Regions from separate parts of the Homo sapiens genome. Here region 2 is linked to region 1. Evidence: promoter capture Hi-C in 16 types of primary human blood cells and fetal thymus (Javierre and others, 2016). All regions are on one chromosome and are shown on one strand. Each heading gives the region's core, a stretch centred on a gene start or on the middle of the fragment in contact. The rest is flanking DNA. Distances are from core to core; before and after follow the strand shown. Region 1 holds the start of LINC01151 (long intergenic non-protein coding RNA 1151). Region 2 overlaps C8orf76 (chromosome 8 open reading frame 76).

Region 1 (4,754 bases), core at 677-3,176:
CCGAGCAGTGACATCTTATAAAGCTGTGGTAAAATAGCAAAACCAGGGAGTTGGCACTGGTAGTGTTGAACTATACTGCAGATTTTATTCTGTTCTCAGCATTTTTTAAGCTTGCATTTGTGTGTATGTAATGTTATCCCATGTATAGATTCATGTAACCACCATCCCAATCAAGATACAGAACTGTTCCATCACAGTAAAAGAATTCCATTCAGGCCGGGCGCGGTGGCTCATGCCTAAAATCCCAGCACTTTGGGAGGCCGAGGTGGGTGGACCATTTGAGGTCAGGAGTTTGAGACCAGCTTGGCTAACATGGTGAGACCCCGTCTCTACTAAAAATACAAAAATTAGCCAGGTGTGGTGGCACACACCTGTAAATCCCAGCTACTCCAGAGACTGAGGTAGGAGAATTGCCTGAACTGGGGAGGCAGAAGTTGCAGTGAGCCTAGACTATGCCACCACACTCCAGCATGGGTGACAGAGTGAGACTGTGTCTTAAAAAAAAAAAAAAAAAGAATTCCATTCTATCTGTTTGTATTCCTCCCCCCTCATCCTCCTGCTCCCTGGCAACCACTAATCTGTGCTCTTTCTGTCATCGTTTCGAGAATGTTGGATAAGTGGAAACAGATCCGAAAGGTATGTAACCTTCTGAGACTGGCTTTTTTCACTAAGCATAATGCCTGAGGTCCATCCAGGTTGTTGCATGTACCAAGAGTTCATTTGCTTTTGTTGCTAAGTAGTATTCCATTGTATGGAGGTACCACAGTTTGTTCCATCCTTTGCCTATTGGACATTTGCTTTTTTTTCCCTCGAGTATTTTGCCATTATGAATACAGCCACTACGAATATTTATATGCAGGTTTTTGTGTAAATATAAGTTTTGATTTCTCTGGGATAAATGCCAGGAGTATGACCGTTGGGTCATATGGTAAGTGTTTAATTTTGTAAGAAACTGCCAAACTGTTTTCCATGGTGGCTGTACCATTTTACATGTCCACAGGCAATGTATAAGAGATCTAGTTTCTCTGCATCCTTACCAGCATTTGATATTATCACTATTTAAAATTTTAGCTATTCTAAGTGGTGTGTAGGCATATATTTTTGTGGTTTTAATTTGCAGTTTCCTAATGACTAATGATATTGAACAACTTTTCTTGCTTATTTGCCATCTGCCTATCCTTTTTGGTGAAATATCAGTTCATGTCTTTCAGCCATGTTTAATTTTTTTTTACTGTTGAGTTTTGAAAGTTCTTTATATATTCTAGAAGATGCAAAATGTTTGTCAGATATTGGCTTGCAAATATTTTCTCCCAGTCTGCAGGTTGTCTTTTCACCCTCTAAACAGAGTCTTTCACAGCATGAAACAAATGGAGGCTTTAAATGGCCATTTCAGAAAAGCCTGACCTAGCCTTGAGAGCGTCGGACACGGTCACTCCACCGGTTCCCACTCACGAGGGCAGATCATGGGTTTAAATCCCATTTGGGTGTGCTAATTCAGCTTCACAATAGCTCACCCACCATGGGCTTAACGCTATTCAGTGGCCACAGGTGAGTGTGTTTCAGGACATCACAAAAAGATAAGCTGAGAAAGAGTGGCCCACCGCTGCCAGAACAGCTTGAGGGCAAGTCCCCACTGACCCGGAAAGTGAGTCAGTTGCATCACCCCCTTAGAAACCTGGAAAATGCTTCATCATCGGTGTAGAGCGAGAGCCAGCATTCAAAACGCCAGGGGGCTTATCAGGCCATTTCACCACAACATAAAGTAACAGGCAGACTTGAATTCATCTGGCACTGTTGACCAACACAGAGAGCCAAAACACACACGGAATTCAAAATCAGAAATAATCCCAAGTTTGAGTCATCCAATGTGCTTGTCTACATTGATTGCACTCACCAGATAAAAGTCCAATGCACTCTGTGGGGTGAAACAGCCTCTGTCTCAGGTTGGGAGTTGCTGCCATGGAGACCACAAGAGTGGAGATTTTCTGACACACAGAAAGGAATGGATTACAGCTCCTTCTTATGTAAATTTCCATGGAGGGGAAAAAAGATTAAAAGGAAAATAATTCTGCTTTAGTCGTTTTCCTTTAAGGTGATAAGATCCTTTGATTCCATCGTGGAGAAGAAGGCAACAGCTGTTTGTCACAAATGGTAAGACATTTTATTTGACATTTTGCAGAAACTCGATCTTTAGCTGTAATTTTGACCTAATGGTTACAGTGAGTTGTTTTTAAGAGAAAGATAGATTTTCTTGAAGCCAATGGGCCTCAGACATGAAGAATGAAGAACTAATTGTACTAACCTCAGTTTCTGAAGTGGACAGGGAAATCTTACCTTCCTGCCTCTCTATGTTCAGGCTGAGTGGGTCAGAAGGAGAGTGTATTAGGTAAGAAAATTTATCAGTATTATTTAGTGAACACTGGATTTATCCTTTTGCATTCTGGCTGTAGTACCCAACTTCCACATGGCAATGCACCCTCACCTCAGCCCTCCGCCCACGTGGTCCCCTTGCTGAGCACTTTAATGAATGACTGCATCTCATTTTCACAGCTATTTGATGCACCTGCTATTATTACTCTTATTACCATTTTCCAGTGGGAAGCTGCTTCTTGGGCAGGGTGGATTTCCATCTGCGTCTCCTTTTCGGTGTTGAAAGCTGGTAAGTGAGGACACCAGGATTGGAACCTGGGTAGTCTGAGTCCAGAATCTCTATTTTCAAGTCTTCCTGCTCTCTGCTTCTGGCAAGTTTGATGTCCACTTTTGATCTTCACCTACATTCCAGCATAATAGCTACTTTTGGTTGTTTTCTCAGCAGCACAAGAGAAGTGTGGCGAGATTTTTAGGTGAGTCATCTAGAGAAGTTAATCTTATTTTGGGAATTCTACTGGCAGCTTCAGGTGGGGAAAATTTTGTTATTTTCTATCCTCCTCTAGGTTCTAAAAGGGAAGAAAGATGGTGAGCGTAGAAAGATGTGACTGTATTCACTATTCACCCTTTGTCGGGTGGTGAGTAAGCAGCTTGCAAAAGCAATGAAGTTTGGAACAATCCAGAGAACCAAACTTTCAGCTGCCAGAGATGGCACCTGGTATCCTGGGTACATCTGCCTGTAGGGCCCAGAAAGAGCTGGAAGCCAAGTGCATGGATCAGGTCTGTAGGAAGGTGGGAGAGCCAGGAATCGAGTGTCAGGGGGCATTTATTACCCATGGAAGCAGGTTTTTGTCAATTTTGTTCACTGCTGGATCACTAACACCTGGACTGGTGCCTGGCCAGGTGGTGGCTTCATAATCATTTGTTGAGTGAATCAATGAATGAATGAATGAACAGCTGTAGCAGATGCTAGCAGGGCTTCCTATTTCTTCCATCACCATAAAGGTGAAAGACATCATAAACGGGAATTTAGACAATCCTCAGAAATTTTCAACTGCCATGTATCTTGACTTGATGCTTCTAGTAGTTATATTTATTTGTAATTCAATCTTTCTTTTTAAATAGTTGACCAAGTGTGGTGGCTCACGTAGTCCCAGCACTTTGGGAGGCTGAGGCAGGAGGATCACTTGAGCCCAGGAATTTGAGACCAGCTTGGGCAACATAGTGAGACCTCATCTCTTAAAAAAAAAAATTAGCTGGGTGTGGTAGTGCACACCTGTGGTCCCAGCTACTTTAGAGGCTGAGGTAGAGGATTGCTTGAGCCTGGGAAGTTGGGGCTGTAGTGAGCTTTGATTGCATCACTGCACTCCAGCCTGGGTGACAGAGCAAGACCCTGTCTCTAAAAAATTAAATAAATAATAAAAAAATTAAAAAGTAACTCCCTTTTCTTTATTTTCAGGCTTCCTTCCCACCTGCTAATTCAAACACTTTACAACCAAAAATATCTTACCTTGATCCTGTTTCTTTCTCTATAACCTCTCTATTTCTGTTTCTTTCAACCAAATTTCTTAGGTCATCTATAATTTTGTTTCTACTTTTTCTATGCATGCCTCAATCCATTGCCAACTCCTCAACCTGCCCCAAGTGCCCACAACTCCACCAAAAGTAATTCTAACATTTTACCAATCCAATACATCACAGTTTTTTATAAAAAACTTAAGAAATATACTTTAGTTGAATTTGAAAGAGTTGCCCACTTGTGTTAAATATTTCTTTCCTTGTGTCTGGGATATCATTTGATTCTGATTCTATTCCTAATTCTCTGACCACCCTTTCTTCGTAGATTTCTCTTCCTTTGTTCAGCCTTTCACATCCTTGGAGTTCCATCCTCTGGTGATTGTTTGTCCTGTTCCATACATTCTCCTTATATGAGCATTGTGTTTTAGCTTATGAATGGTCACATGACCTAGCCAGGCCAATCAGAGTCTTCCATGAGACTTTTGTTTATTTATTTATTTATTAATTTATTTATTCTTCCACATGCCATCTCATTTAACCTGGGACTTTTGTCAGAATTATCAGGAAAGACATTCTTCTTTCTTGGCAACAGTTGACTTTTAGGATCACAGTAGTCTGGGGCTGCCAGGGACCATGTTCTCCATTAGCAGAGAGCCTGGCTGAGAACAAAGTCAAAACATGGGAAAGCAGGATGGAGAGACATATTGTCATCATGTTACCCCTGGATCTAGCCATATTTGAGGCTTAAACTTATCCTGGACTCTAAAGTTATGGAACTAACATATCTTTTTAAATAATTTAAGCAGGTTTGAGTAAGATTTCTGACACTTGCAACCAACAGTCCTGAAAAAGATACCTCTACTCAGTCT
Region 2 (5,299 bases), core at 1,570-4,069, 530 kb before region 1:
CTGGAGTGCAGTGGCACGATCTCGGCTCACTGCAACCTCTACCTCTTGGGTTCAAGCGATTCTCATGTCTCAGCCTCCCGAGTAGCTGGGATCACAGGCATGTGCCACCACGCCCTGCTAATTTTTGTATTTTTAGTAGAGACAGGGTTCACCATGTTGGCCAGTCTGTCTTGAACTCCTGGCCTCAAGCAATCTACCCACCTCGGCCTCCCAAAGTGCTGGGATTACAGGCCTGGGCCACCATGCCTGATCTCTTCCTTTTACTTCTGAGAGGCTACACTGGTTTGTTTTTCTCCTGTGTTTCTTAACGTTCCTCTGCCTCTTGGGACTCAGCTGGTTTCTTCTGTAGCGTAAGTAATGGCATGCTAAAGATTCCCTTGGCCTCTCTGTTTTCTACTTTTCTGTCACAGAAATCATCACCACACCCCTAGGTTCCATTGTCACCTCTGGGTTGATTACTCTCCAGTCTTTATCTCTAGTCTCATCTCTGGGACATGTGTCTCACATCAGATTAATTGCCTACTAGGTGGTTAACCTGGGATAATTATTGATTACTCTTCTGTCACTTCAAGTACAAAATGTCTAAAATGGAACTACTCATCAGAACACTTCCTGTAATCTCAGCACTTTGGGAGGCCAAGGTGGGTGGATCACTTGAGGTCAGGAGCTCAAGACCAGCCTGGCCAACATGGTGAAACCCCATCTCTACTAAAAATACAAAAAACTAGCCGGTTGAGGTGGCAGGCACCTGTAATCCCAGCTACTCGGGAGGCTAAGGCGGGAGAATTGCTTGAACCCGGGAGGTGGAGGTTGCAGTGAGCCGAGATTGTGTCACTGCACTACAGCCTGGGCAACAGAGGGAGACTCCATCTCAAAAAACAAAACACAAAAAAACACTTCTGATCAGTCTTTTAATTCTCCCAAGTTCCACATCCTCCAGGAAGCTTTTCCGGAATATTCTGCTCTGTGGTCATTTCTCCTTCCTCTGAGCTCAGATAGTGATTGCTTGAATAGATAGCTCTTTGGGCCCTAAGAAGACATAAGAATGTATCTTATGTTTTCAACTAGATACTAGGTTCCTTATAAGTAATAGTATGTTTTGAGCATCTTTGTATTCTTCACCATGCTCGATAAATCTGTTGGTTGGGTGGAAGAGTAGTTTCCTGTGTAGACAATGCATGTGATATACCAGTGGAGCTTTTTAAAAAGATGGAAAATGTCTGGGCCCTCGTTAGGATTGTAATTAGGATTATAATGTACATTTTGTTTTGTGCTTATTTTTATTTTTTAAAAGGTCTCATTCTGTTACTCAGGCTAGGCTGCAGTGCATAATCTTAGCTCACTGCAGCCTGAAATTCCTAGGCTCAAGTGGTCCTTTCACCTCAGCCTCCCAAGTTCGTAGGATTACAGGCACCCACCACCATGTCCAGCTAATTTTAAAATTTTTTGTAGAGGCAGGGTCTTGCTATGTTGCCCAGTCTGGTCCCAAACTCCTGGCCTCAAATGATCGTCCCGCCTTGGCCTCCCTAAGTGCTAGGATTATAGATGTGAGCCACCATGCCTGGCCTTTATTTTGTGCTTTTAATTTTAGTTGACTTGTAATAACATAGCCCTGTATCCTTAAATATTCTATGATCACATGCTTTTTTTTCCTGTTTGTAATTCTTTTATTTGAATTAGGATCCAAATAAGGTCTAAATACTATATGTGGCCCTTTTGTCTCATGTCTTTTTTATTCTATAACAACTGCTCTTCTCCCTCTTTCTTTTTTACTCTGATAAAATATGTAACTTAAATTTGCCATCTTAATCATTGTTAAATGTACAATTCAATGGTATTAAGTACGTATACAGTGTTGTGCCGCCATGACCATTATTTCCAAAATTTTTTCATCACCCCAAACAGAAACTCTACCCATTAAGCAATAACTCCCTATTTTCTTCTCTCTCTACCCACTAGAACCTCTAATCTACTATTTTTCTCTGTGAATTTATCTATTCTAGATATTTCAAATAAGTGGAATCATGCCATATGTGTCCTTTTGTGTCTGCTTTATTTCACTTAGCATAATGTTTTCAAGGTTTATCCATATTTAGCATTTATCAAAACTTCATACCTTCTATGGCTAAATAATATTCATATATATGTACATATCTCATTTTGTTTATCTACTCATCTTTTGATGGATACTTGAGTTGTTTCTACCTTTTGGATATTGTGAATAATGCTGCTATGAACATTAGCATATAAGTATGTTTAAGTCTCCTTTTTTGTTTGTTTTTTTTGTTTGAGACGGAGTCTTGCTCTGTCACCCAGGCAGGAGTACAGTGGCACTATCTCGGCTCACTGCAGCCTCTGCCTTCCAGGTTCAAGCAATTCTCCTGTCTCAGCCTCCCAAGTAGGTGGGACTACAGGCGTGTGCCACCATGCCCAGCTAATTTTTATGTTTTTAGTAGAGAAGGGCTTTCACCATATTGGCCAGGCTGGTCTCGAACTCCTGATCTCAAGTGATCTGCCTGCCTCGGCCTCCCAAAGTGCTGGGATTACAGGCATGAGCCACTGCACCCGGCTAAGTCTCTGTTTTTAATTCTTTTGGGTATATACCTAGGAGTAGAATTACTGGGTCATATATTAGCTCTGTTTAACTTTTTTAGGAACTACCAAACTGTACATTTTATTTTCTATGTTCTGATATTTACCTAACATTATGACATGGGCATGACCCTATATCCTAAATATTATTTGAGTACATAATTTTTAATGACTGGATAGTCAATTTTTGGACAAACTATAATTTACTTAGTTCCCTGTGTTGAACATTTAACAAATACTCAGTACCTATTTTAATAAATCCTTGCAAGAAAATCAATATGTGCCTTTGTACCTTTTGGAACAGATTATTAGAAATAGAATCGCTGGATTTAAATATATGAGCATTTTTAAAGACTTAAAGCACATTTCCAAATTATCATTTAGAAAGGTTAGTTCAATTTATATATCCTCTAGCAATATGTGAAAGCATTGTTTTTTCTACCCTGATCCTGACTATTAGATTGAACCATGTGAAATCAATCATTTTGACCTCTGTTTTATATAATTTAACTTAATAATATTACTTTAAAAATTGGTAGCTTGGTAGATAAAAATGTAATGTTTTTAGCATTAATGTTTATTTACTATTAAGATGAACAATTTTTTCATGTGTTATTGGCCATTTGTATCATGTCAAATGCCTAGTCTTGCTTTTGCTTCATTATTCTTTCTGTTTTTCATAGCAATTTTAAGAGTTCTCCCTATATTAGACTTAAGTATCTTTCTATAGTTACTATATTTTCTGAAGTTTATGATTTTTTTTGGCATATGGAAGTTTAAAATGTTTATGTGGCTGAATGTTTTGGCAGATTTTTGACACCTGTAAATATTGTGCCTATCTGTCCCTCTTTTGGGAATAGTGTGTTGTTTGGGTCTTACTATTATTCATTTATCTTTTTTTAAGAAAGGCATTTTTGGTGTTTTATCCCAGATTTTAAAATACTACATTTCACTGAATCCAGGAAATCATCAGTTTTAAGACATATCATTTGATGTGTCACTAAAAGAAAAATAAGATGCCTGCCGGGCGCGGTGGCGCACGCCCGTAATCCCAGCACTTTGGGAGGCCGAAGCGGGTGGATCACGAGGTCAGATCAAGACCATCCTGGGTAACACGGTGAAACCCTGTCTCTACTAAAAATACAAAAATTAGCCAGGCCTGGTGGCGCACGCCTGTAATCCCAGCTACTTGGGAGGCTGAGGCAGGAGAATAGCTTCGATCCAGGAGGCAGAGGTTGCAGTGAGCCAAGATTGCACCACTGCACTCCAGTCTGGGCGACAGAGTGAGACTCTGACCCCCCGCCCCCCAAAAAAAAGAAAAATAAGATGCCATTTACACTATCACATAGAGCCTCACTCCAGTGGTTATCAAATACATTTTTTAAAATTTTTTTTGGAGGTGGGGTCTCACTCTATCTCCCAGGCTGAAGTGCAGTGGCACAGTCATAGCTCACTGCAGCCTCCAACTCCTGGGCTCACGGCATCTTCCCACCTCCGCCTCCCAAGTAGTTGCTGGGACTATAGTTGAGTGCTGCCATACCCGGCTGATTTTTAAACAATTTTTTGGCCGGGCACAGTGGTTCATTCACATCTATAATCCCAGCACTTTGGGAGGCAAAGGCGGGTGGATCAGTTGAGGTCAGGAACTCAAGACCAGCCTGGCCAACATGATGAAACCCTGTTTCTACTAAAAATACAAAAATTAGCTGGGCATGGTGGCACTTGCCTGTAGTCCCAGCTACTTTGGAGGCTGAGGTGGGAGAATTGCTTGAACCCAGGAGACAGAGGTCACAGTGAGCCAAGATCGCACCACTGTACTCCATCCTGGGCTACAGAGCGAGACTCTGACTCAAAAAAATGATACTTTTTTTTGTAGGGACGGGGATCTTGCTCTGTTGCCCTGGCCGTTCTCTAACTCCTGGCCTTAAGCGACCATCCTGCCTCGGCCTTCCGAAGTGTTGGTGTTACAGATGTGAACCACCACACCTGGCTCAGATACATCTTGATTTTAGAGATGTTAAAATACAAAAACAAAAAAGTATCTTAGAACTGGTGAAATACCAGGCTTTAGTAAATACTGACTGTTGCCTAGTGAAGCTTGGCTCTCACTGGCAATTTCCTCAAACAATATGTAATCTTTGAAGATTTAAACCCAGTCCGCAAAACCATTATTTGAGCCTGCTTCTAATTCATTATAATTTGAGTTTTCATGAACACATTCAATATCCGGGTTTGCAGGAACCTTGGAGATTATCTAATGCAAATCTATGTGGAACTTAAATTCCCTCTACAACATCCCTGCTCCATGACTACATAAGCTTTCGTGACAGATGGTATGAAATGTTTTGGAACTTAATTTTAGTTCATTGTCATTACCCAAGGTCAGTCTGCTTACTTAGTGGGTTCAGGTACAAGCTTTCTACAACCTAACTTTGTGATGTCTTCTCAAAGAAACTAACCCAGAATCTTGGGACATGACCCTGTGTTCATCTGGGCCTGATTCTGACCAGTAGGGAGCAGTATTGTACCTTCATTGGTAACGGGCTCCTTAAATCCCCAAGATTGCTTTGGTTATAGAGGGATTAGAGTCCTTTTGGGTCAGGAAAAGGTGGGCCCAGCTACATGCTACAGTTGCATTCTCACCAACAGAATATGCTCTTTGAAACAAAAAGGGTAACTCAGTACTCCTGGTAAGCCAAATAGTACT

What was found. The method cuts DNA at HindIII sites, captures the fragments that hold promoters and counts their contacts. A CHiCAGO score of 5 or more calls a contact.
Region 2: a contact is called between a fragment that was not itself captured here and the fragment with the promoter of LINC01151 in region 1, in 1 of 17 cell types (naive CD8 T cells). The highest score is 5.1, in naive CD8 T cells.

What each region holds. Positions count from the first base shown.
Region 1 is chr8:122,691,278-122,696,031 of GRCh38, reverse strand. It overlaps LINC01151 (long intergenic non-protein coding RNA 1151), which reads left to right and starts at 1,926. Exons shown (of 4, transcript NR_126348.1): 1 at 1,926-2,151; 2 at 2,551-2,659. RefSeq lists enhancers at 1,110-1,610, 1,431-2,630. The HindIII fragment of the contact is 4,977 bases long and covers 113-4,754 here.
Region 2 is chr8:123,220,598-123,225,896 of GRCh38, reverse strand. The region is part of intron 5 of C8orf76 (chromosome 8 open reading frame 76); the gene reads left to right. Among named protein-coding and RNA genes, the nearest start is that of MIR4663, 7.4 kb to the right of the region's middle. The HindIII fragment of the contact is 3,745 bases long and covers 947-4,691 here.